Regions from separate parts of the Homo sapiens genome. Here region 2 is linked to region 1. Evidence: promoter capture Hi-C in human tissues and cell types (Jung and others, 2019). All regions are on one chromosome and are shown on one strand. Each heading gives the region's core, a stretch centred on a gene start or on the middle of the fragment in contact. The rest is flanking DNA. Distances are from core to core; before and after follow the strand shown. Region 1 holds the start of UCP2 (uncoupling protein 2). Region 2 has its middle 6.3 kb from the start of CHRDL2.

The links. Contacts are between HindIII fragments. The study calls those that stand out against the background at their distance.
Region 2: a fragment that was not itself captured here is called in contact with the fragment with the promoter of UCP2 in region 1 in 1 of the 25 tissues and cell types used here (dorsolateral prefrontal cortex).

The regions. Positions count from the first base shown.
Region 1 is chr11:73,980,854-73,984,189 of GRCh38, forward strand. UCP2 (uncoupling protein 2) reads right to left here and starts at 1,990. Exons shown (of 8, transcript NM_003355.3): 1 at 1,868-1,990; 2 at 623-779. RefSeq lists silencers at 1,901-2,110, 2,411-2,570 and an enhancer at 2,827-3,327. The HindIII fragment of the contact is 13,644 bases long and covers 1-3,336 here.
Region 2 is chr11:74,735,902-74,739,499 of GRCh38, forward strand. It overlaps the pseudogene RPL36AP38. Among named protein-coding and RNA genes, the nearest start is that of CHRDL2, 6.3 kb to the left of the region's middle. The HindIII fragment of the contact is 8,028 bases long and covers 1-3,598 here.

The DNA of each region.
Region 1 (3,336 bases), core at 740-3,239:
GACATGAGTCTGTCACATTCCTGACCTTGAGCTGGGTTGCAGGATGTTGTGAAGGCCAGAGAAGAATAAGACCCAGCTGCTGCCCAAAGACAAGTGCACAGAGGTTCAGCTGCCATATTCTGAATGTTGCCTTGGGCTTGCCAAGTCAGGTCCTTCAGAGGGTGGGTAAGATGGCCCTACTAACAGCAATTAAAATGCAGGACTAGAAATAGTTAATCCTATTTTACAGTCCCCAGCAAATAACCAGTTTCAGAGCCGGGCTGATTACCAATCTCGGTTTCAGGGATAGTCAAAAGCTAGCATCAATATGAAGTTAGAACAATAGGTTCCTGTCCTAGCTCTTCTGCTGGCTCCCGGGATGACTTGGGGCCAATCACTGTTACACGTGGGCCTCAGTTTTCTCCTTTATAAAATGGGGACCAAGATCCTTGGCTTGTCCGAGTCAGCTGAAGGGCCAGAATGAGAGCGGGGAGGTGTGAGAGTGCTCTGTGAACTGGAAAGAGCCACTTCACTGTCGGGGGTGGGGATGGTAATTATTTTTGTTAATGCCCTGCTGACTCCTGCCCCTAGACCACAGGGTTAGGAGGCAGCAAGAGACCTCTTCCTTGGACTGGACTCTTACCCGGCTTTGTAAGGTCTCACGGTGAGGCCTCCAAGATCAAGCTTCTCTAAAGGTGTCCCGTTCTTCAAAGCTGCCAGTGGCTATCATGGCCCGATCCCCTTGGTTTTCCATAGAAAATGGGTGGGAGACGAAACACCTAATGGTCATACTATGTGTCCTGTGGGTGAGCAAAGGCAGAGAGTTTAGAAAGGGCCACCTGCCCCAAGACACACAAGCCCACCCAATCCATGCCTTGGAGGGGGATGGGGAACAGGGCCCAGGGACTGGTTAAGTGCACACACTGGAAAGGGGAAAAGCAGGGCGGAAAATGAACCTAGGTACACTCCCCACCCCCACCCCACCTGCTTAATATCACAAATTGGTTCTCATCCAGACTTCTGCTTTTGTAACACTCAGTACTCTATATAAGCACCCCCTAGCACAGTCATCAGACTTTGGTGAGTGGGAGAGTTGTGAGGGGGTCACGATGGGACAGAGACTCTCCGGGAATTGGCTAGGTCCCAGGTCGGGCTGTGAGGAGGTTGGAAGGGCTGGGAGCCGGCCCTGCAGAGGCCAGATTGAGCAGCTCAAAGCCCACTAGAAAAAGCCCCCAAGCCCTGGGAAAGGCGGTGCAGGAACACTGCCTGGAGCTGCCTGGTAAGGGAGAGGTCATTGTGGTCATCGCTGATGGTCCCCATCCAAGGCAGGGCTCGGCATCGTGGTGGAAAGGAGGGAGTGAAAAGGTGGAGGCTCAAACGACAGCCAACTGAACGGGAGAGGGAAAGAACAAAAGGGACTAAGAAAAAGAGAGAAGAGAAATAAAGAACCAAGGACAGAAAGGATTAGCACAGGCCGGACCCGGAGGCTCATGCCTAAAATTCTAGGACTTTGTGAGGCCGAGGCGGGCGGATTGCTTGAGCTCAGCAGTTCGAGGCCAGCCTGGCCAACATGGCGAAACCCCATCTCTACAAAACACAAAAATTAGCCAGGCGTGGTGGCGGGCGCCTGTAATCCCAGCTACTCGGCAGGCGGATCGCTTGAACCTGGGAGGTGGAGGCTGCAGTGAGCCGAGATCGCGCCACTGCACTCCAGCCTGGGAGACAGAGCGAAAGCCTGTCTCAAACAAACAAACAAAAACAAAAAATAAAACCGAGAGAAAGAAAAGAGTACAAACTTGGGTGGGAGAGAAGGTAAATGGAAGAGCGGGCAGCGCACGCAGAACAAGCGTGGGGGGCGCAAAGGGCGCAGGGCTGGGGCCAGGCTCACCGAGCCGCAGGGAGAACACGGCAGTGCGTGCGGCTGTGTCTGTCGGCTGGCGGAGGGCGCGTCGGACGAGCCGGGCGAGCGTGGACAGTCAATCCCAAGGCGCGCGCAGCTGGGCTTCGCAGTGGGGCTCCGCGCAGGCGGCGGCGCGGCTTAAGCCTCGGGGGCGGGGCCCGGGGTGGGGCCTGCGGGGCGGGGCCGGGCCTGCCAGCTCCTACTTGGGTGCGGAGACCCTGGAGCAGCCGCCTTTCCGCGGGGACCGCCCCGCCTAGGGTTCTCTCCATGACTTTCTCCACTCCCGTTTCCGTGCGTCCCATCACCGCGTTTACTCCTTCGTTCCCCGAGATGGTCACTCCCTTGCCACTCCCCGCCTCTGCCTCACACTCTCTCGGGCCGCCAACCTCTGTGAGGATGGCAAGACTGACCGCCAGAAACAAGTCTTGTCCAGTCACACACCTCTTGCCTTCCCAGCCAGGACGGTTTCTAACAGCGTCCAGCGGGGCCGTGTCTTAAGTGCACTTCCTCTTTTATGGGCCCAGCCCCCCTACGCTGGGCAAACTACCCACCCTCCTGCGAGCGAGCGCGCGGCTGGCTCCTGCAGGGCGGGACTGGGGCCTCGCGACCGGCCTCGCTGTCGATTGGTTACAGCCGCCGCGTTGTCGGGGGAAGGAACCAATCAGAACTGCAGCAACAGGTGGCCCGGCAACCGACAACAGCCGTTGGGCTCGGCTGGGGTTCGCGCCTTCTCCCCCGGTGGAGCGGCCTGGCGTTTAGGGACCAGGACACTAAAGGCCCCGGCGGGGCGGGAGCACCCAGCGTGACCTCACGCTCCTACACACAGACAAGCAAACGGGCCGGCCCCCGCACGTGACAAGGCAGAGCCGGGCCCAGGCCAGCTGCCTGTCCAGCCCTGGGATGAGAAAAGGCGTCAGGAGATGGACCGGGCCTGGTTCGCCTTTAATTGGCTGACCCGTCCTGTGGGGGTAACTGACGCGTGAACAGCCAACAATTGGGCCCTCTGGCCGGGACAAACACGTGCGTTTGGGGAGTAGAAGAAGGCTGGTATTAACCTCCATTTTACAATGAGGAAACGGAGTCCCAAAGACGTTCAGTCATCTTCCTGATATTCACACACTTACACCCTGGTCAGGCCGGCGCCATATGTGTTTTCACCAGCAGAAGGGACTGCCAGGGAACAGCTGAGGGGACCAGAGCTGGGATGGGCCTGGATAATTATAGCGGAAAGAAAAACACGCCGAGCGCATGGTCCTGGCAGAAGCAGCGTGGAAACAGAAGTCAAGGCAGATTATTTCTGCCATGAGGAGATCTTGCCATGTAGGAAAAAAGAAAGAAAGAGAGGAAAGAAAGACAGAGAGAGAGAGAGGAAAGACAGAAAGACAAGAAAGAAAGAGAAAGAAAGAAAAGAAAAAAAAAAAGAAAAGATAAAGTTTTTTTGTGGCACTGTGAGTCTC
Region 2 (3,598 bases), core at 849-3,348, 760 kb after region 1:
TCTGTTTTAAGTGTAACTTATTTAATTATACGTTATGTTATTTAATTTTTAGGAATGATTGTGTTCAATAACCAGCTTGCAACATTTCTGAAAATTTAACCCCTGGCTCTCCTTAGCTGGTAAAAGCCCCCTCTAGTACGCTGCTTTTACATGATTAGGTGCTGAAATGCAATGAACAAATAGCCTCTTTAAAGCTGAGTTCAGCCAGTGGTGGTGGCATGTCTGTAGTCCCAGCTTCTCTGGAGGCTGACGTGGGAGGATCACTTTGAGACCAGCCTGGGCAACATTGTGAAACCCTATACCATTTAAATAAATAAATAAATAAATAAATAAATAAATAAAGCTGAGTCCAATTTATTTACATTAGGAGGAAAGTCTTATTTAAAGGACCTTCACAGTTAATTTATTTGTGAACAATTCCTACCCTACTCTCACCCCTCAACTGGGTCAGTTACTCACCTATATAACAAACATTTATTTAGAACCTACTATCATTTTTGTATTTATTTGGCTCTCCAGATGTTGTGCATATAGTTGGCCTAAATAAAAATGTCTGTAGAATGGATGAATGAATCCTCAGCACCTGAAATAGTGCCTGATGCATTGTGGGTGCTCGATCAGTATCTATGTGAGTGAATGGATCTTCTTAAAGTGAGGCTCATCCGTATTTACATAGGTTTCCATATGGCTATGTGAATATTCCCAAGTCTTTTTTCTCCCTCATTGAGCCCTCTGTTCCCAGGACAATCTGTACACAGCAAGAGGAGGAAGTATCAGGAAACCAGAATGGGGAACACATAGCCCTTAATGTCAGAGAGCCCTCATGAGGAAAACTGAGTGGGGACATGGTGTCTTCAGCAGAAGACATGGAGTGGGATCATCATTCTTCTAGAGTCTTAAGCCCTGCCACTGGCCAGAGGCCTCCTCTACTGGGGCATCCTCACTTACCAAGTATCAAAGAGAGTGGACCTTGTTCTCTCACCTCCTCCACATTCAGGGGACTTTAGAAAAGCAGTTTGTTCTCAGAGACTTCTTTCAATAGGTCTGTGAGGATGCAGTTAGAGCACCAGAAAACAGTGCCATACAACTTGGGTCACGCAGTTGGAAGGTGGCAGGCACTGTGTCCACCTAAAGGTGGGAATGAAGAGCCACTAGAATTATCTTTTAAAAATGTAAATCAGGCCAGGCGTCATATGTCATGCCTGTAATCCCAGCACTTTGGGAGGCTGAGGTGGGAGGATTGCTTGAGCCCAGGAGTTTGAGACCAGCCTGGGCAACAAAATGAGACCCTGTCCCTACAAAAAACTTAAAAATTAGCTGGGCATGATGGTGTGTACCTGTAGTCCCAGCTACCTGGGAGGCTGAGGCAGGAGTATTGCTTGAGCCTGGGAGGTCAAGGCTGCAGTGAGCCATGATTGCACCACTGCACTCCAGCCCGGATGACAGGGTGAGACCCCATCTCTGAAAAAAAAAAAAAAAAAAAAGAAAGAAAAGAAAAGTAAATTAGTGAAGTCCCTTCTTTGCTTAAAACCTCTCCATTGCACTTAGAATAAAATCCAAAGGGTGGGTGCAGTGGCTCACACCTGTAATCCCAGCACTTTGGGAGGCCAAGGTGGGAGGATCACTTGAGTCCAGGAGTTTGTGACCAGCCTGGCCAACATCATGAGATCTCATTTCTACAAAAAATTAAAAAATTAGCCAAGCGTAGTGGCACAAGCCTGTAGTCCTAGCTGCTCTGGAGGCTGAGGTGGGAGGATTGATTGAGCCTGGGAGGTGGAGGCTGCAGTGAGCCAACATCGCACCACTGTATTCCAGCCTGGACAACAGAGCAAGGCACTGTCTCTAAATAAATAAATAAGAATAAAATCCAAATCATTTGCCAAATATGTAAAGCCTTCCATGCCCTGGCCCTGTCTACACTCTGACTTCAGACCACTCTCCCTGTGCTCACTATGCTCTAGTACACGGGCCTTCTTTCTGTCCCTGGGATACATCAAGCTGCCTGGTCCCTCCTCAGGGATTTTGCCCTTGCTAGTTCTCCTGCTTGGAATGCTCTTCCCTCAACCTTTTCTACAGATAATACTTCATTCAGCTCAAATGTCACTTCTTTAGTGATGTTTCCCTGGTCCAATCTATGTAATGATGCCTGCTTTTGAGTAATTTTCTATCTTATTGCCTTGTTTTCTTTCCTTTCTTATCATTCTCTGAAACATATTTTTCACTTGTATATTATCTGTCTCCCTCATGAGCACAAAAGCTCTGCAACAGCCTAGACTTTAATTTTTTTTGTTTTATTTTCTATTTTTTTTTTTTTTTAAAGACAAAGACAGCATCTCGCTATGTTGCTCAGTCTGGTCTCAAACTCCTGGGCTCAAGCCATCCTTCTGTCTTGACATCCCAAAGTGCTGGGACCACAGGTGTGAGACACTGCGTCTGGCTGTGGACTTTAATTTTTGATCACTGCTATATCCCTAGCTCCTGGAACAATGCCTAATACATAACAGATTTTTTTGTATGTGTGTGTGAACCTAACTTCAATATTTTATTGTCTTCACAATTAAAAAAAAGATGAAGCTTTGAACTAGGTCACTTGGCCCTTTTCTTCCTATCTCCCGCCAGTTTAAAATGCTTGCATCTCTTAATAGTCAGCCTTCTCTTAGCTCTGCAATTGGGCTCAATGCACTCAAGGCTCAGCACAGTCTTTTTTGTGGTTTTAACCTTTTTCTGGAAAATTGGCTTAGTCTGCCCACCCTAGCCACTCTGCTTCTTGTTATAATGCTGCTTTCCCTGGACATACAGTGGATCCTTACCCTTCTTGTACTGCGTCAGTTTGTGGGGTTGGTGCTTGCCTCACTTCTTACGGAAAGTCTGGCAGGTTTTAGGAATGTTCACCATGTTTGTAGGTGTGCTATTGATATAGAAAATGAATTTAAAAAAGAAAGAAAAGAAATGGAGGATGGAATATTTATCTGTGTTATCTGATTCATATGAGTAATGAACCCTAGATTCAAGACCCCAAATCCTTGGAATTCACCCACATTAGTATTTTCATCATCATTATTATTCCCCTTACTTTTATTATCATCTCACCACCATCATTATCAATAACAGCACTGCACGGCACATGGGAGTATTTAACGTTGTTGAATGACTGAATAAATGAATAGCAACTTTACAGCTGACCTCGGACTTCCTTTTTAGTCTTATTTACTCCTCCTCCTCTGCTTCAGTCCAACTTCTTATCTATACTGTGTGTAGCTACTCAGAGTCATTTTCACTGAACACATGCCTCCATGCCTCCTTGTGTTGGCTTATTCTGCTATTCTTTCTATTTGTAATTCCCATTTCCCTTCTCTGATGAGTTCTCATTCTTCCTTTAGGACCTAATTCTGTATTTCATCCAGGTACATAGTCACTTCCTCTTCTGTGCCTCCATATTGCCTTTTCTACATCACTGTTAAATGCTCATCTCTTAAATTATAGGTGTTGTTGTATCTGTCTCCCTCCCTAGATAGGGAGTATCATGAGGGCAGAGATGGTATATTTCATCTCTGTGTTATCAGGAACCATTATTGGACTTGCCATATAGCAGTTTAAC